7 separate regions of the Homo sapiens genome follow, and all the other regions are linked to region 1. The links are contacts of gene promoters, found by promoter capture Hi-C in blood cells and fetal thymus (Javierre and others, 2016). All regions are on one chromosome and are shown on one strand. Each heading gives the region's core, a stretch centred on a gene start or on the middle of the fragment in contact. The rest is flanking DNA. Distances are from core to core; before and after follow the strand shown.

Region 1 (2,716 bases), core at 123-2,622:
TGGATGGGGCAGGCCCCCAGGGGAGGCAAGGAGCGCCGACAGAAGGGCCCAGGCGCTTGCAGGGCGCGAGTTCCCACCTCAAGCACCGTGGCGGCTCCCGCGCTGCGCACCTGGAAGTGCGCAGGCTGCTCCGCCGCCTCGTCGGCGCGCTGGTAGCTGAAGCAGGCTTCTGCTATGTCCAGGTGGCCGAGGGGCAGCGGGTCGTGGGGGTTCTTGAAGTAGCAGAGGCAGCAGCGGCGCCCGTCCAACACGAACCGACGGCTGCGGTAGCCACGCAGTCGCGCTGGTTCCCGCGCGGTACCCGCCCCGGGCTCTGCAGCCTCCCCATCGCCGTCGCTGCCCTCCTCTGCCCGGGTTCCGGCCCCGGTATGGCTGCCTGCGCGCCAACCGTTTGTTCCCCGGCCCCCGCGCCTTCGCGCTGCGGCTGCTGCGCTCCCTGCCCCCGCGGTGCCCCCTTCCCGCCGCCCCGCTCCTCTCTCAGGCGCTCAAAGTGGCCTGGAATTTGTAGAACGCCCCCCTCCAAGCCCGTTGGCAGTTGTCCTAGCCCGCTGGCCCTTGCCCCCGCCCGCTGGCCGTTGCCCCCGCGACGCCCCGGAAGCCAGGTCCTGCCTCCCGCACCTGCCAAGTCCCCGCCCTGCCGGAGTCTCGCTCTGTCGCCCAGGCTGGAGTGTAGTGGAGCCATCTCGGCTCACTGCAACCTCCGCCTCCCCGGTTCAAGCAATTCTCCCGCCTCAGCCTCCCGAGTACTTGGGATTACAGGCGCCCGCCACCTCGCCCGGCTACTTTTTGTATTTTTAATAGAGACGGGGTTTCGCCGTGTTGGTCAGGCTGGTCTCAAGCTCCTGACCTCAAGTGATCTGCTTGCCTTGGTCTCCTAAAGTGCTGGGATTACAGGCGTGAGCCACCGCGTCCGGCCCAAAAGCCTTTTTTGGATGAGAAAGACTCACTCAGCTTCGTCCTGAAGAGCAAGTGGGCTGGGGAAGAGGAGAGTATGAATGTGAGTCCAAGAGCAAGTTTTGCACTTTTTTCTTCAAAGAATGTCACCGTCTGAAGAATGCGATTGGAAGACACACACACACACACACACACACACACACACGCAGCCGGTTCTCTACAGGATTAGAAAAAACTTGCGCGAATTAATCTGCGTAGTTAAAAACAAATACGAAATGAGCGAGAAAGCACATAGTAGTCAAATCTCGCCACCACATAAACAGGTTAAGTTTGGAAGCACAGCCCCTAACATTCGGTGCTGCTTAGCATCTCCGACTTCCGGCGTCCTCCGTTGCTAAGGTGACCAGAGGCGCGTCCTAACGCTCCGCCCAACAAACCATAGAGTACCGGAAAAAGCTCGAGCAGAGGGGTCGGAAAGGGAAAACAACTACGGCTGCGGTGTGGTTGGTGGTGAGATGACGACCTTAGTGCTGGATAATGGAGCTTACAACGCCAAAATCGGTTACAGCCATGAAAATGTGTCGTAAGTACTTTCTTTCTCCGAGGGACAAGATATATACGCCTAGTGGTTTCATGTGCTACGTTTCATCTCCGGACATCAATGAACTGCAGACACCCCCGCGCGGCCCTGACTTAGCCAGAGGGATTCCCTGGTTGGAGCTGGGTGGGTGATTGTGATGCTTTGAATTGAAATTGATTTTGGTTTTAGTTTTGGGCTGCGAGGCCCCGGAAGTGGGATATATGTTTTATTTCGTAACAGGAAATAGCCAAAGAAAATAGGCTTATAGAGATGCGTTCCTGACAGAAGGGTCCGTAAAGTTCATCAGCCTTTGGAAACTATGGGCACGGTGTTTGGGTGTATGCGGATTTTCCTGGGTACAAGATTATAGGTTTCATTAGATTCTCAAAGGGTTCTATGACCCTCCAAAAGTCTAAAAATCACGGTCTTAGGATCTAGAGGCTTTGAAGACTTTGGCCTACTGGCCGACCTAGTTGGTAAGGTCAATTAAACAGAAGTACTGTTAATACAATGGCATTCATAACATGTATAGTCATAAAATATATGTTTGAATAAATAAGCAAACCTAAAGACACGCCTTTCCTTTATCAAATTAACAGAGCATTAAAAAAAATTCTTTCCTTCCTCCCTCCTTTCCTTCTTTTTCATTTCTTTTGAAACAGAAATGAAAGAGGGAAATCAAACTGAGTAGGAATGTAAATTGTTACAATCTTTCTGGAAAACGTTTTGGCAATGTGTATCATTATCATTGTCACCGAGGCTGGAGTGCCGTGGTGCGATCTCAGCTCACTGCAGCCTGAATTCAAGTGATTCTCCCGCCTCAGCCTCCAGAGTAGCTGGGATTATAGGCGTGCACCACCACTCCCAGCGAATTTTTTGTATTTTTGTTAGAGACGGGGTTTCATCATGTTGGCCAGGCCGGTCTCGAGCCCCTGGCCTCAAGCAGTCTACCCGCGTTGGCCTCCCAAAGTGCTGGTATTAGGGGCGTGAGCCCTACACCCAGCTGACAAAGCAATTTTTTTTTTTTTTTTTGGAGAGGGAGTCTGGCTCTCTTGTCCAGGCTGGAGTGCAGTGGCACGATCTCGGCTCGCTGCAACCTCTGCCTCCCGGGTTCAAGCCATTCTCATGCCTCAGCCTCCCAAGTAGCTGGGACTACAGTTGCGCACCACCACGCCTGGCTAAGTTTTGTATTTTTAGTAGAGACGGGGGTTTCACCATTTTGGCCATGCTGGTCTGGAATTC
Region 2 (2,700 bases), core at 38-2,537, 1.9 Mb after region 1:
TATTGTTAATAAAACAGAGCAGTTTGTATTATGGCTAAGAGTAAATGCTAGGGAGTCAGTTGGCTTGGGTTCACAGCCTAATTCAGCCTTTTGACTGAGTGGCCTTAGACAAATCACTTAATTTTTAAAAAAAATTAGTTTTTTAAATTGACAAAAAATTGTATTTATTTATCATGTACAATATATTTTGAAATATGTATACATTGTGAAATGGCTTAACTGAGCAAATTAATATGCATTACCTCACATTCTTAACATTTTTGTGGTGATAACAATTAAAATGTATTCTCTGAACAGTTTTCAAGGATACAACAGTGTTATTAACTAGCAACACCATGTTGTACAATAGATCTCTTGAAATTATTCCTCCTAACAGAAACTGTATATACTTTGATGAGTATCTCCCCATCCACCCCACCCACTGTGTCCCCACATCCCCTAGTAACCATCATTGTCTTTCTACTTCTATAAGTTCACCTCTTTTGTTTTTTTGATGGAGTCTCACTCTGTCTCCCATGCTGGAGTGCAGTGGTGCAATCTCAGCTCACTGCAAGCTCCCCCTCCCGGGTTCACGCCATTTTTCTGCCTCTGCCTCCCTAGTAGCTGGGACTGCAGGCACCCGCCACCACACCCGGCTAATTTTTTGTATTTTTAGTAAAGACGGGGTTTCACCGTGTTAGCCAGGATGGTCTCGATTTCCTGACCTCGTGATCTGCCCACCTCGGCCTCCCAAAGTGCTGGGATTACAGGCATGAGCCACCGTGCCCGGCCTGTAAGTTCAACTTTTTAACACACCACTTGTAAGTGAGATTATGTGGTGTTTGTCTTTCTATGCCTGTCTTACTTTCCTTAATATAATGTTTTCCAGGTACATCCATGTTGTTACAAATGACAGGATTTCTCTCTTTTATGGGGCTGAATAGCATTCCATTGTGTATATATACCACATTTTCTATCCATTCATCCATTGATGGATACTTAGGTTGATTCCATATCTTGGCTATTGTGAACAATGCAGCAATGGCCATAGGAGTCCTGATCTCTCTTCACTACTGATTTCATTTCCTTTGGATATATACCCAGTATTGGGATTGCAGGATCATATGGTAGTTTTATTTTTTGAGAAACTTTCATACTGTAATGCTTATACTAATTACATTTCCACCAACAGTATACAAAGGATTCCCTTTTCTTCACATTTTTTTTTAACACTTTTATCTTTTCAATAATGGCCATTCTAACAGGTCATAATTTATTTTGGTTTCCATTTGCATTTTTCTGATGATTAGTAATGTTGAGCATTTTTTATATACCTCTTGGCAATTTGTGTGTCTTCTTTTTGGAAATGTCTATTCAGATCCTTTGTCCAATTCTTAAAAAACGATTATTTTTAAAATTCATTTTATTATTTAGAGACAGAGTCTCAATATGTTGCCCAGGCTGTACTTGGACTCCTAGGCTCAAGAATTCTCCTGCCTCAACCTCTGAAGTAATTGAGACTGTGGGCATACGCCACTGCATCCTGCTCTTTTGCCCATTTTTTTTTTAATGGGGTTGTTTTCTTATTGAGTTTCTTATATATTTTGGATATTAACCTTTTATCTGATACATGATTTGGATATATTTTCTCCCATTCCATAGGTTGTCTCTTCACTCTGCTGATTGTTTCCTTGGCTGTGCAGAAAGTTTTTAGTTTGATATAATCCCATTCATGTATTTTTGCTTTTGTTTTCTGTGCTTCTGGGTTTATGTCCAAAAAACCATTCCCCAGACCAATGTCATGGAGTTTTTCCTCTGTTTTTTTCTAGGACTTTTGCAGTTTCAAATGTTAAATTTAAGCCTTTAATACATTTTGATATTCATTCTTCTAGCCAATGAGCCTGGAATGTTTTTCCATTTGTTTGTACCTTCTCTGATTTCTTTGAGCAGTGTTTTGTAGTTTTCATTGTAGAGATCTTTCACCTCCCTGGTTGACTGTATTTCCAGGTATTTTATTCTTTTTATGGCAATTGTGAATGAGGTTGCATTCCTGATTTGCCTCTAGACTTGACTACTGCCCAAAGCAATTTATATATTTAATGCTAATCCTGTCAAACTTCCAGTGACATTCTTTGCAGAGCTAGAAAAAGCTCTTTTAAAATTCCTATGGAACCCAAAAAGACCCCAAATAGCTAAGGCTATCCTAAGCAAAAAGAAGAAAGCAGGTGGTATCATGCTACCTGACTTCAAACTGTATTAAAGGGCTACAGTAACCAAAACAGCATGGTATTGGTAGAAAAACAGACACATAGACCAATGGAACAGAATACAGAGCCCAGAAATAAGACCACACACCAACAACCATCTGATCTTCAACAAAGCTGATGAAAACAAGCAATGGGGAAAGGATTCCCTATTCAATAAATAGTGCTGGGATAACTGGCTAACCATGTGCAGAAGATTGAAACCGGACCTCTTCCTTAAACTACATACAAAAATCAACTCAAGATGAGGGACTTACATATAAAACCCAAAACTGGAAAAACCCTGGAAGACAACCTAGGCAATACCATTCTGGACACAGGCATGGGCAACGATTTCATGATGAAGATGCCAAAAGCAATTGCAACAAAAGCAAAAATTGACAAATGGGATCTAATTAAACTAGAGAGCTTCTACACAGCAAACAAAACTATCAACAGAGTAAACAGACAACCTACA
Region 3 (2,700 bases), core at 8-2,507, 1.6 Mb after region 1:
CACTTGAGCCCAGGAGTTTGAGATCAGCCTGGGCAGCATAGTGAGACCCTGTCTCTAAAAAAATAAATAAATAAAAAATAAATGGGCACACCATGGGGTAGCCCTGCTCCACAAAGAGCAGTAAAAAAATTTTATGCCAAATAAATAAATATTTTTAAAAGGACGGAGGAAGGGAGGGGAGCAAATATGGAAAGAGTTGGGGCGGGGGGTGATGCCACCTTCTTCCTGCAACATTCCTTCATCGCCCTCTACTGGCAAAGCTTCACATCACACTCACTGCAAAAGAAACGCTTCAAAAGAAGTCCAATTCATTAATACACAGCAAGTTCTGAAGGAGTGAATTTGGAACTGAGAGGCAACAATTGATTATTGGCATATCCTTGAAGCCAGGGTTCTAGGTGTGGTTGAAGTTCTCCTAATCAGGTGAATTCACAGAAGATTTCAACCTGGAAGTAAGCTACATGGAGAGAGAGAGGCAGTGCAAAGGGCGCCTGTTTTGGCTGGAGTGAGTGAGTCAAGGCAGGTGTGGTGCAGTTGGAAGCAGCTTCCTGCCTCTGTAGAAAGCATCCTGATCCTGCTCTTTCTGATCCCGGCAGCGTCAGTAGCTCCCTTGACAGCTTAGTTCAGTGGAGTATTAGGACCTGATCTTACAAATTCAACCTAGTAGTCTCTATCTAGAATACTGTCATAGGTAAAGGCTCTTTGTTCAGACCTCCTGAGGGCTTATGGGTAGGCCAACTTAATCCCTTTCTGTTTAAATCAGTGAATAGATTCCTTAATCTACAAATAATTACCCTGACCAAAATAAGGTAAGAGAACATAGCTTGTATAATAGTAAAACTCCTTGGAATTCATTGACTCTTCCTTCGTTGCCTAGCACATTGTCCATTTTTGTAAAGTTTCAGGTTTGCTCAAAAAGAAAATATTCTCACCAATGGCTTTGGCTCATGCCTGTAATCCCAGTGCTTTGGGAGGCCAAGGTTGGAGGGTCGCTTGAGCCCAGGAGTTTAAGACTGGCCTGGGCACATCGTGAGACCCATCTCTATGAAAAGAAAAAAAATTAGCCGCGTGCAGTGGCTCACGCCTGTAATCCCAGCACTTTGGGAGGCCAAGGCGGGTGGATCACCTGAGATCAGGAGTTCAAGACGGACCAGCCTGGCCAACATGGCGAAACCTCGTCTCTACTAAAAATAAAAAAATTAGCCAGGCCTGGTGGCGCATGCCTGTAATCCGAGCTACTCAGGAGGCTGAGGCTTGAGAATCGCTTGAACCCGGGAGGGGGAGGTTGCAGTGAGTCGAGATTGTGCCATTGTACTCTAGCCTGGGTGATAAGAGTGAGACTCCATCTCAAAAAAAAAAAAAATTAAATTAGCTAGGTGTGGTGGTACAGACTTGTAGTTCTAGCTACTTGGGAGGCTGAGGAGGGAGGATCACTTGAGCTGAGAAGTTTGAGGTTACAATGAGTTGTGATAGCACCACTGCACTCCATCCTGGGCAAAAGAGTAAGACAAAAGAAAAGAAAAGAAGGAAAGGAGGAAGAAAGGAAGGAAGGGAGAGAGAGGGGGAAAGAAAGAAAAAGAAAGAAAGAAAGAAAAGAAAGAAAGAAGAAAGAAAGAAAGAAAAAGAAAAAGAGAGAGCGAGAGAGAGAGAAAGAAAGAAAGAGAGAGAGAAAGAAACAAAGAGGCTGGGCTCAGTGTTTCACGCCTATAATCCCAGCACTTTGGGAGGCCAAGGTGGGCGGATCACGAGGTCAGGAGATGGAGACCATCCTGGCTAACATGGTGAAACCCCGTCTCTACTAAAAATACAAAAAATTAGCCGGGTGTGGTGGCAGGCGCCTGTAGTCCCAGCTACTCGGGAGGCTGAGGCAGGAGAATGGCGTGAACCCCAGGAGGCAGAGCTTGCAGTGAGCCGAGATCAGGCCACTGCACTCCAGCCTGGGCAACAGAGTGAGACTTTGTCTCAAAAAAAAAGAAAGAAAGAGAGAAAGAAAGAAAGAAAGAAAATTCCCTCTGTGTATTTTTCTGTCTGTCTTGTCTCTCCTGTCTCCCCCTTAGTTCCTAATTTCTTCCCTGTTTAAGTTCTCACAAACCTCAGGATCAATATGAAGTCCACTGTGATGTACTTTGCAGAATCTACCTATTTGCAAAAGCTAACTCCTACCCTCATCTTTGTACCTGGTGTTTGAAAACTGGATCAATTTTCTGATCTCCAAGCATTTGGAACTTTCTTTAGTTTTCATCTCCTTAAAACCAAAGCTTCCAACCCCACCGGAAACAAACAAACAAGCAAACAAAACACCCAAAGCAGTGAGCACTCAATATATATATTTGATTATCCATAAATGCTGATTCTCTAATTCATTGCAATGTCAAGTTCATAATTAAATAGGGAGACTTTTGCATTTTGCATAGTCTGCTTTCCAGAATACTGTCAGGGATACTCTGATATTTTGCTATAATGCTTTGGCAGTGCTCTAGATGTATTAAACTCACTGTAACCAATCCCAGGAGCACAGTAAAAGTCCAAGTGATGCCAACCAACAAGGAAATTTCAGAGTTAATTTATCCAAAGTATAAATATCACAGTGAAAGAGTAATAACTGGTGCTTCTGACATTTTAGGCTAAAGGAACGAATAAATGAATGTGGCAAGAACCCCTAGATTATACCAAAAGAAGGGTGAATAATTATTAGGGTTA
Region 4 (2,700 bases), core at 27-2,526, 1.6 Mb before region 1:
GTTGTTCAGTATATCCTGTTTTTCAGTTATCCTATTGGACCAAGTTTTTACCTCATTAATTTCTTCCTGTAGACGCTTTAGATGAGCAATTATTTGAAAAGACTTCAATTGTTCCATGATAGCTTCAGATTTCTGCCACTATAAGAAAATATAATATCACAATGATTAAATGTATTAGAAGCTTACCATTTAAAATTCATCTTAAATTTTATATTTCTTTTTAATTTTAATTTTTTTTTTGAGACAGAGGCTTGTTCTGTTACCCAGGATGGAGTGCAGTGGCACGATCTTGGCTCACTGAAACCTCCACCTCCTGGGTTCCAGCGATTTTCCTGACTCAGCCTCCCAAGTAGCTGGGATTACAGGCACCCGCCCCCACCTCAGCTAACTTTTTTTGTATTTTTAGTAGAGACGGGTCTTCACCATGTTGGACAGGCTGGTCTCGATCTCCTGACCTCTGGTTATCTGCCCACCTCGGCCTCCTAAATCCATGCCTGGGATTACAGGCGTGAGCCACCACGCCCTGCCTTATGTTATTTTTTAACTACACTTTACTGTTCTTCTGGAAAGCATATGGTAAAAGACGACTTCAGAAGTAAGAGAATTTAGAACAATGTAAGTGAATTACTAATGAATAAGAAGGAAACATTAAGAAAATTTCATGAAATGTCCCTGGAAATTACATTTTTTACATTATAATATTTTCACAATTGGTCTTCTGTACAGTAATAAAATGAGCTACATGAGACAGTGATGTGGTTTTTCAGTTGCTGGAGAAGGGAAAAGGAAGTTTCCTCCAGTTGAGCTTTGCTAGGTGAGACAAGGCAACATAAGTTCTTTTTTATTTCAGCTTTATTAAGGTATAATTGACAAATTAAAATTGTATATATTTATTGTGTACAATGTAATATTTTGATATACATATCTACGCACATATTGTGAATGATTAAATCAAGCTAATGAACATATCTATCACCTCATGTATTTTTTTTTGTAGTAAGAATATTTAAGATCTACTCTCCTAGAAATTCTCTCTTTTTTTTGGAGATGGAAGTCTCACTCACTCTGTACCCAGGCTGGAATGCAATAGCCCCATCTCTGCTGACTGCAACCTCTACCTCCTGGGTTCAAGTGATTCTCCTGCCTCAGTCTCCAGAGTAGATGGTACCACAGTTGTGTGCCACCACGCCTGGCTGATTGTTGTTTAGTAGTGACAGGGTTTCACCATGTTGACTAGGCTGGTCTGAAACTCCTAATCTCAAGTGATTCGCCCGCCTCGACCTCCCAAAGTGCTAAGATTATAAGGCATGAGCCATCGCGCCCGGCCTCTTAGCAATTTTCAAGTATATATTATTATTATTTACAGTCATCATACTATACAATAGATCTCCAGAACTTATTCATCCTGTTTAACTGAAACTTTGTATTCTTTAATCAACATCTCTCAATTGTCCTACCCTGTCCCCTCCAATCCCTCGTAACCATTCTACTCTGTACTTCTATGAGTCTGACTTTTCTAGATTCCACATATAATTGAGATCATGCAGTATTTGTCTTTCTGTGCCTGGTTCATTCCACTTAGCATAATATCGTTTAGGTTCATCCATGTAGTCACAAATAACAGGATTTCCTTCTTTTTAAAGGGAGAACCGCATTTTGTGTGTGTGCGTGTGTGTTATTTATCATTCATCTGTTGATTGACACTTAGGTTGATTCTACATATCTTGGCTATTGGGAGTAATGCTGCAATGAATATGGGAGTGCAGAAAACTCCTTGACATACTGATTCATTTCTTTTGGATATATATCCAGAAGTGGGATTGCTGGATCATATGATTATTCTTAGTTTTTTTTTTTTTGAGGAACCTCCACACTGTTTTCCATAATGGCTATACTTTCCCACTCACAGTGTACGATGGTTCCCTTTTCTCCACATTCTCACCAACACTTGTTATCTTTTGTCTTTTTGATAATAAATATTCTAACAGGTGTGAGTTGATATCTCATTGTGGTTTTAATTTTTCATTTCCCTGATAATTAGTGATGTTGAGCATTTTTTTCCATATACCTGTTGGCCATTACTATGTCTTCTTTTGAGAAATGTCTATTCATGTCCATAGCCCATTGTTTAATTGGGTTTTTTTTTGCTATTGAGTTGAGTTCCTTATATATTTTGGATATTAAGCCATTCTCAGATTTATGGTTCATGAGTATTTTCTCCCATTCTATAGGTTGTCTCTTCACTCTGTTGACTGTTTCCTTTTCTGTACAGAAGATTTTAGTTTGACACAATCATATTTATCTATTTTTGCTTTTGTTGCTTGTTCTTTTCAGGTTCTATTCAAAAAAATCTTTCCCAAGACTAACGTCAAGAAGCTTTTTCCTCATGTTTTCTTCCAGCGGTTTTCAATTTCTGGTGTTACATTTAAGTCTTTAATTCATTTTGAATTGGTTTTTGTATATGGTTTGATATAAGGGTCCAGTTTCATTCTTCTGCATAGGATATCCAGTTTTCTCAACAGCATTTATTAAAGAGATGTCCTTTCCCTTTTGTGTGTTCTTGGCAACTTGGATGAGAATCATTTGAACATACACTTGTAGAAGTATTTCTGGGCTCTCTGTTCCATTAGTCTATGTTTTTTTTTTAAATGCTAGTATCACGCTGTTTGGATTACTACAGCTTTGTAATATATTTTGAGA
Region 5 (2,700 bases), core at 135-2,634, 1.9 Mb after region 1:
TAATAAAAATAATTTATTTGAAAACAAGATTGTGCCTTCAGGTTGCTCTAAAAATAGTCTAAAATTAATGGCCTGCTAATGTCTTTTGAATTTGTTACTGAATTTGTATAGTTCCAAAAAGGTCTTGAGACAGTTTACCAAAAAATAAGAAAAATCCAACCAAACAAAAACACCAACCAGAAATGATGAAACACAGCAAATTCACTAAAAAGAGGACAGGAAAACAAGTACTAAGCAACAAGGAAAGCATAGAATACAACAGCTGAATATGTAGATTAAAGAGGTATCACAAAACTTAAAACCAAGGGAAGAAGACTGTTTCCACAGCTTTAAAAATTTAAAGAATCAAAGAGACTTGTTCTTGTTTAGGTCTAGATATTGTGACCACTTTCTTTTAATATAAAAGGAAATCAACAGCACACCAGCTGTTGGCAATGACATTACGTGTGCTGACAAAAGCTATTGTGTAGATTATTCAATTAAGTTAGCTAAATATCGGTAAAGGCTTCTAGGAAAAAACATGCAACATCTTCACAACCTATAAGAAATCACACAAAGATTTCTAATAGAAGAAACAAATATACCAAAAAAGCGTCAGCATTATCACTCATCATGGAAATGTCATTGTGGCATCAACCAGAATGGCTAAAATTAAAAAGACAGGCTGGGCACAGTGGCTCATGCCTGTAATCCTAACACTTTGGGAGGTCAAGGTAGGTGAATTGCTCGAGCCTGGGTGCTCGAGACCAGCCTGGGCAACATGGCGAAACCCCATCACTGCAAAAAATACAAAAAATTAGCCGGGAGTGGTGGTGCATGCCTGTAGTTCCAGCTACTTGGGAGGCGGAGGTGAGAGGGAGGGTTGAGGCTGAGCCAAGGGAGGTTGAGGCTGCAGTAAGCTGTGATTATGGGTCTGGCTGTCAGCCTGGGAGATAGAGTGAGACCATGTACCAAAAAAATAAAAAAAAAAAAAAGAAAGATTGACAATAGCAAATATTGGAGAATAGGCCAGGTATGGTGGCTCATGCTGTCATCCCAGCACTTTGGGAGGCCAAGGCACATGGATTGCCTGAGCTCAGGAGTTTGAGGCCAGCCTGGGCAACAGGCAAATCCCTGTCCCTACAAAAAATACCAAAATTAGCCAGGCATGATGATGGGCGCCTATAGTCCCAGCTACTCAGGAGGAGGCTGAGGTGGGAAGACGGCTTGAGCCTGGGAAGCAGAGATTGCAGTGAGTGGAGATGGTGCCACTGTACTCCAGCCTGGGCAATAGAGCCAGACCTTGTCTCAAAATGAATGAATGAGTGTTGGAGAGTAGGAAGACCACCCTTAGATTATTGGGGAAAAGACAAAATGGTAGAACCACTTTAGAAACTGGCATTTTCTTAAAATGTTAAACATACATCTACCCTGTGACTCAGCAATTCTACTCCTAAATTAAATCATATAACCACCCAAAGCAGTATTCAGCAAAAAATAATAACTAAAGCCTAGAAACTGTATTGGTACCTATTTACAGAAGAATGAATAAACAGACTATGGTCTATTGATACACTGTAATGGAGTACTACTTAAAAAGCACTGGTATACATAACAATGTGGAAAAATTGCAAAAACAAGCCAGACACAAAAGACATTCTGTATGATCCCACTTATATGAAGTTCTAGAATAGGCAAAACTGATTTCTGGTAATAGAAATCAGATCAATGGTTGCTTCTGCAGGGAGTGGGGTACAATGATTAACTGGGAAGAAGTATGACGAAACTTTCTTGGGTGACAGAAACAGTGCATGAATAGGGTGTGGGTTGTACAAATATACGTATTTGTCAAAACTGATCAAACTATACCCTTAAGAGCTGAGAATTTCAGAGTATCTAAATTATCCCTTAATTTAAAAAAAACGAAGTTAGCTTAATAGTTGATAACTTTTAGTTCCTAAGTACTGTCTACTAAAAGAAGACACATCTTTTAGATTTGACATTTGTAGAAGGCAAGGCTAGTGTTTTGTAACAGATCTTAAATAACCTAACATATTCTTGCCCCTGTAAAGAGGGCTTCAGCAGGCATTGCTAGGATTTTTTTCTCAGAAAACCATCATTCCTTTTAAACACTTTCACAAAAACTGAAGTCCAGGACCAGAACTTACAGATTTATATACTGTTGGACAAAAAAATGTGATCTTGGCCTATGGGTGGGGAAGGAAAGCTCATTAATGTCTCAACCAAATTTAGTTATTTTAAGTTATACTTTCAATAAAGTTGTAAATTCAGTGAACAATCTGTAAAGACCTTGATTCAGATGAATCTCACGTAAAAGGTTTTGTAGTTTGGCTCAAACACATGGTCAAGGCATCATAGTCATGGCTGTATATTTAAATCACAAATTCAGATGATAAGCCTAAATTATTAAGTAGTAGCAAATATCAAAATATCTAATATCTTGGATTGTGGAAAATGGAAATTGAGAAAAAAGTATCTATGATCAGACTTCCAATCATGTAACACAATCAAAGTACATTAGTAAGGAATGCATTTGGTACTGTTAAACTTACTTGATTACTGGAGGCAATGAATCAAGTCTAGTCTCTGGGCTCCAAGCTATGCCATCAACCCTGACTCCATGGTGAAATGTTCGAAGTGTTTTATACTGAATGCCTTCAACGTCTGCTTCTTCTTCCTAAGCATACACAGTAAATGTTT
Region 6 (2,700 bases), core at 143-2,642, 1.7 Mb before region 1:
TATATGCTAAACAAGGGGTGGATTATTCATGCCTCCCCTTTTTAGACCATATAGGGTAACCTCCTGACATTGCCATGGCATTTGTAAACTGTCATGGTGCTGGTGGGAGTGTAGCAGTGAGGACAACCAGAGGTCACTCTCATCGCCATCTTGGTTTTGGTGGGTTTTGGCAGGCTACTGCAACCTGTTTCACCAGCAAGGTCTTTATGACCTGTGTCTTTTTTTTTTTTTTTTTTTTTTTTTTTGAGACAGAGTCTCACTCTCGCCCAGGCTGGAGTGCAGTGGTGCAATCTCAGCTCACTGCAACCTCCACCTCCCAGGTTCAAGCAATTCTTCTGCCTCAGCCTCCTGAGTAGCTGGGACTACAGGCACGCGCCACCACGCCCAGCTAATTTTTGTATTTTTAGTAGAGACAGGGTTTCACCATGTTGGTCAGGCTGGTCTCGAACTCCTGACCTCGTGATCCACCTGCCTTGGCCTCCCAAAGTGCTGGGATTACAGGCGTGAGCCACCGTGCCCGGCCTATGACCTGTATCTTCTGCCGACCTCCTATCTCGTCTTGTGACTTAAAATGCCTTAACTGTCTGGGAATGCAGCCCAGTAGGTCTTTTCTTTTTTTTTTTTTTTTTTTTTTGAGACGGAGTTTTGCTCGTTGTCCAGGCTGGACTGCAATGGCGCGATCTTGGCTCACTACAACCTCCGCCTCCCGGGTTCAAGCGATTCTTCTGCCTCAGCCTCCTGAGTAGCTGGGATTACAGGCATGTGCCACCACGCCCAGCTAATTTTGTATTTTTAGTAGAGACAGGGTTTCTCCATGTTGATCAGGCTGGTCTCAAACTCCCGACCTCAGGTGATCCACCCACCTTGGCCTCCCAAAGTGCTGGGATTACAGGCATGGGCCACCGTGCACGGCCTTACCCACCCTTTTTTCAACATGGAGGTGCTGTGATTCAAACCCCTCTAACATCAGGACCCCAAAAATGACTAAGCCAAAGGGAAAGTCAAGCTGGGAACTGCTTAGGGCAAACCTGCCTCCCATTCTACTCCTAAAAAAAAAGATAGCTACTAAGATAAAAAAGCTATATATACCTCCCTCACAATTTGACCACAAAGAAATTCCTTGTGGACAAAGGACAGATAGAGATTTAAAAAGTCATCCCTCTGCTCATATGAGATAAATGCATATCTGATTGCCCTTTTGTTTCCCTAAGCCAGACTAACATAAGTGACTATTCCTGTAAATAGTGTATTCAGTGAAAGGCTAATCAGCAACTCAAAAGAATGCAACCATTGGTCTTTTATCTACCTATGACCTGGAACACCCCGGAGCCCCCCAACCCCCACTTGTATTAATAGCTGTCCCGCCTTTCTGGATGGGACCATTGTACATCTTAAACATATTGATTGATGTCTCATGTCTCCCTAAAATGTATAAAACCAAGCTGTGCCACACAACCTTGGGCACATGTCGTCAGGACCTCCTGAGGCTGTGTCATGGGTGTGTCCTTAACCTTGGCAAAATAAACTTTCTAAATTGATTGAGACCTGTCTCCGATTCTCTTGGTTTACAGAGCGATGTATTCTGGACGAACTAATAAAATTGAGCTTTTGGACACGCAGAATTGAAATGCAGACCTGAATTCTGATAAGCCAAATGGTTCTCCAACTTAGCACTCTCACTTAAAAAGAAAAATATGGTTTTAAAATCATATGTGTTCATTGTGGAAATCTAGGGAAATACAGACATATAAATAAAAAGAAAATAAGAATCACCTGTGCCTCACTATCCAAGAGAAAGTACTCCACTTTGATGTATATTATTTTTTTTCTTTTCTTTTCTTTTTTTTTTTTTTTTTTTTGCCTCCCCAATAGCTGGGAGTACAGGAGCACACCAGCATGCCAGCTAATTTTTTTTTTTTCTTTTTTTTTGAGACTGAGTTCCGCTCTTGCCCAGGCTGGAGTGCAATGGCGAGATCTTGGCTCACTGCAACCTCCGCCTCCCAGGTTCAGGTGATTCTTCTGCCTCAGCCTCCCAAGTAGCTGGGGATTACAGGTGCCCACCACCACACCTGGATAATTACTGTATTTTTAGTAGAGACAGGGTTTCGCCACGTTGGCCAGGCTGGTCTTGAACCCCTGACCTTGGGTGATCCGCCCGCCTCGGCCTCCCAAAGTGCTGGGATTACAGACGTGAGCCACCGTGCCCGGCCCCACCTAATTTTTGGTTATTTTTAGTAGAGACTGGGGTCTCCCTATGTTGCCCAGGCTGGTCTCAAACTCCTGAGCTCAAGGGATCCTCCCACCTCAGCCTTCCAAAGTACTGGGATTATAGGTGACAGCCACCAAGCCAGCCTCATATTCTTAAATGTCAAAACATGATTTTTTACTACTGTGCATTATTTTGTCATATGGATATATCATAAACAACCAATTCCTTACTATTGGAGATAGAGATTTTTTATTTTTTTCACCATTATAAATGAAGCAATAAATACCTTTATAAATGAATTCCACATTTGATTTTATCTTTAGAATAAATTATCAGAAATGGCTTAAGGGAGCTAAACTTTTTTTTTTTTTGAGAGACCGAGTCTCGTTCTGTTGCCCAGGCTGGAGTGCAATGGTGCCATCTCAGCTCACTGCAACCTCCGCCTCCCGGGTTCAAGGGATTCTCCCACCTCAGCCTCCCAAGTAGCTGGG
Region 7 (2,700 bases), core at 145-2,644, 1.9 Mb after region 1:
AATAAGGACTAGAGGCCTATTAGGCACTATTAACAAAAACATTTCAAAACACCAAAGTGACTTTACCTTGGGAGAAAATGGCACCTTACATTTGAATACATGTATCTTTGGAATTGACATAAAAATATATTACATCAAACAGACATAGCATAGCAAAGAAGTGAATGAGTCTAAAAATAGATTTTAATATAGCTATAAGAAGGTACTTGTACTGCACTCTCTCACTTGAAGTTGACATAAGCATGCTTCTTAATCAGATAAAGCAGTGCAATGTAAGAAAGCAATGAGATATTGACTTTTCCAGTTAAAAAATCAGTGGGAATCCAGTTCTGCTACTTTCTATCTGTGTATGTGCAGCTAATGCAGCTACAACTACTGGGGGCATGCAAAGATATGTTGAATGAATGAATGACTAAGCAAATGATTTAAACTTCTCTACATCTTAGTTTCTGTATCTGTATGAGTGGGATAACTAAACCTCTCTCAAAGGACTGACTGCGATAATTAAATACACATAAAGCACTTAGTATGATGCCCAGCACAGAGGAAGTACACAATAAATATTAGTTGTTATCTCATTGAGCAGTCTCCAGCTGACATGAATATCCAAATTGCTAAAATATATATTGTAGACAATCAGTTACAGTCAACCCTAGATTATCATACATAAAGGAGAAAAAGGTGGGACAACAGCAAGATGGGGGAATAGGACTTTCCAGCACTGATCCTCCCACAGAAACATCCATTTGAAAAACTATTCACGCACGAAAATACATTCTCAAGAGCTAAGGAGACCAGGTGAGAAATTACAGCACTGGGTTTAGCACAAAAGTAAGAAAAAACACACTGAAGAGGGTAAGAAGGACAGTTTTACAGAACTCATGTCACCCTTCCCCCAACTCCAGGCAGCACAGCATGGAGAGAGATACCCTCCAGGTGGGCGAAGGAGAGGCAGTGAGCACAGGACTTTGCCTTGGACCACAACACCAGGCCCACCCCAGCAGAACTCAGTGCTGAGCAAGCCCCCTCAGCCCAGACTCCAGGCTGACACCTGCAGGCGAAGCCTTTAGGCCCATCCTGGCACTAGGCTGGATCACCCAGTCCTGAGTTCTAGGCTTGTCCCACTGGGACCGTAGGTTCCAGACCAGCTCAAGGCTCAGGACAGTCCCAGCACCAGGCAAGACTGCATAGATTGTCTCCAGGTCTGCTCTAGGGACAGGCCAGCCCCAGTGGCCCTAGGTTCTGGACCAATCCCAGCACAGGGCTAGCCTCCATGGGCCCAAGGTTCAGGCCCACCCCAGCACCAGGTCAGCTCCTGCAGATATAGGTTCCAGGCCTGACCAGTGCCAAGTCAGCTCCTGTGGCCCCAGTCTGGCTCCTGCAGCCCATACCCTAGTGGAAGTAGGGTTTAGGCCCATCCCAGTAGGCCCTTCTGTTGGGCTGACACCCATAAACACAGGCTCCAGGACCATCCCTGTGGACTCAAGTTCCAGGCTAGCCACTATTGCCGTAGGACCCAGGCCAGCCCCATGTAGCCCAAGTTACCAGGCCAGCACCTATAATCTCAGGCTCCAGTCTGGCCCCTGTGACCCCAGGCTGCACACTTGCCCCAGCACCAAGCTGGCCCCAGACAAATCCCTGTGGTGAGTCAGGGTCTAGGTATGTTCCAGCAGACCCAGAGTCTGGGACCACCCCAGTAGATTGCATTGCCAGATTGGCCCCCATGGACGGAGGCTGCAGGACCACTCCTGCAGACTCAGGCTCCAGGCTAGTCACAGTACAACCAGGACCCAGGCCCACCCCCACATACTCTGGCTCCAGGTCCACCCCAGGGGTTCCAAGCACCAGGCCCACCTTGGAACCTGGCCAGACACTGCAGACTCAGGCTCAAGGCTCACCCCAGTGCCAGACCAACCCCTGCAGACTTAGGCTTCAAGTTGGAACCCTAAGGATCCAGGCCCACCCCTATAGAGCTAATCAGCAGGTCCACCCCAGTGGATCAGGCTCCAGGAACAACCCTACGAACCTAGGCACCAGGCCAGCCTACCCAAGGACTCCAGCAGCAAGCCTGCCATGCACCACAACAGATGGCCTGTCTAGAACCTCTGGATGAGCTTACTGGTGAAGGGCTTTCCCAGACAAAGCCAGTCTGCAAAGACTGGAGTAAGTCCTTACTTCTTCAAACACACACATACCAACACATGGCCACAAAGACCAAGAATAATCAGAGAAACACGTCACTACTAAAGAAACAAATCACCAGTAACTGACCCTTCTTCACAACGAATCCAAAATTATTGTTTTAGGGAAACTCAGTGGACTTCAGGAAAATTCAGAGAAACAATTCAATGAAATCAAGAAAATAATAAATGACCAAAATGAGAAATGTAACAGAAAGATTGGAATTATTATTTAAAAAATCAAACAGAAATTTTAGAGCTGAAAAAAAAATGTATACAGTCAAATTCAGAATATTCTAATACTGTCATGGTGATTAAATCACTTATATCTTTAGTATGAAAGTTAACAGACAAAACTATTAAAAATAATAATAGCTACAATAACTTGTTAAGGGATATGCAGTATAAAAAGATATACGTTGCAAAATCAAAAGCAAAATGTGGAGAGGTGGAGTAAAAGTGCAGAGGTTTTTTATGTTATCAATTATGTTATTATCAGTTTAAAATAGCCTGTTATAAC

The links. The method cuts DNA at HindIII sites, captures the fragments that hold promoters and counts their contacts. A CHiCAGO score of 5 or more calls a contact.
Region 2: a contact is called between a fragment that was not itself captured here and the fragment with the promoter of ACTR6 in region 1, in 1 of 17 cell types (naive CD8 T cells). The highest score is 6.5, in naive CD8 T cells.
Region 3: a contact is called between a fragment that was not itself captured here and the fragment with the promoter of ACTR6 in region 1, in 2 of 17 cell types (naive CD8 T cells and non-activated CD4 T cells). The highest score is 9.2, in naive CD8 T cells.
Region 4: a fragment that was not itself captured here is called in contact with the fragment with the promoter of ACTR6 in region 1 in 1 of 17 cell types (total B cells); the score reaches 10.6 in total B cells.
Region 5: a contact is called between a fragment that was not itself captured here and the fragment with the promoter of ACTR6 in region 1, in 1 of 17 cell types (neutrophils). The highest score is 5.8, in neutrophils.
Region 6: a fragment that was not itself captured here is called in contact with the fragment with the promoter of ACTR6 in region 1 in 5 of 17 cell types (total CD4 T cells, naive CD8 T cells, fetal thymus and 2 more); the score reaches 10.1 in total CD4 T cells.
Region 7: a fragment that was not itself captured here is called in contact with the fragment with the promoter of ACTR6 in region 1 in 4 of 17 cell types (naive CD4 T cells, naive CD8 T cells, non-activated CD4 T cells and 1 more); the score reaches 11.2 in naive CD4 T cells.

What each region holds. Positions count from the first base shown.
Region 1 is chr12:100,199,443-100,202,158 of GRCh38, forward strand. It overlaps ACTR6 (actin related protein 6), which reads left to right and starts at 1,373. Exons shown (of 11, transcript NM_022496.5): 1 at 1,373-1,477. The coding sequence starts at 1,410. RefSeq lists a silencer at 317-676 and enhancers at 1,169-1,463, 1,437-1,636, 2,481-2,716. The HindIII fragment of the contact is 11,223 bases long and covers 1-2,716 here.
Region 2 is chr12:102,127,760-102,130,459 of GRCh38, forward strand. All of the region lies in intron 2 of PARPBP (PARP1 binding protein), which reads left to right. Among named protein-coding and RNA genes, the nearest start is that of PARPBP, 8.9 kb to the left of the region's middle. The HindIII fragment of the contact is 9,864 bases long and covers 1-2,700 here.
Region 3 is chr12:101,839,701-101,842,400 of GRCh38, forward strand. No RefSeq gene overlaps it. Among named protein-coding and RNA genes, the nearest start is that of GNPTAB, 10 kb to the left of the region's middle. The HindIII fragment of the contact is 1,998 bases long and covers 259-2,256 here.
Region 4 is chr12:98,614,203-98,616,902 of GRCh38, forward strand. It overlaps a transcript of IKBIP not described here. Among named protein-coding and RNA genes, the nearest start is that of SNORA53, 16 kb to the left of the region's middle. The HindIII fragment of the contact is 2,195 bases long and covers 180-2,374 here.
Region 5 is chr12:102,109,556-102,112,255 of GRCh38, forward strand. NUP37 (nucleoporin 37) reads right to left here. Exons shown (of 10, transcript NM_024057.4): 3 at 2,553-2,677. Among named protein-coding and RNA genes, the nearest start is that of NUP37, 9.2 kb to the right of the region's middle. The HindIII fragment of the contact is 4,522 bases long and covers 1-2,700 here.
Region 6 is chr12:98,508,027-98,510,726 of GRCh38, forward strand. No RefSeq gene overlaps it. Among named protein-coding and RNA genes, the nearest start is that of TRW-CCA4-1, 5.1 kb to the left of the region's middle. RefSeq lists an enhancer at 343-886. The HindIII fragment of the contact is 8,186 bases long and covers 1-2,700 here.
Region 7 is chr12:102,051,333-102,054,032 of GRCh38, forward strand. The region is part of intron 2 of WASHC3 (WASH complex subunit 3); the gene reads right to left. Among named protein-coding and RNA genes, the nearest start is that of WASHC3, 9.3 kb to the right of the region's middle. The HindIII fragment of the contact is 4,399 bases long and covers 1-2,700 here.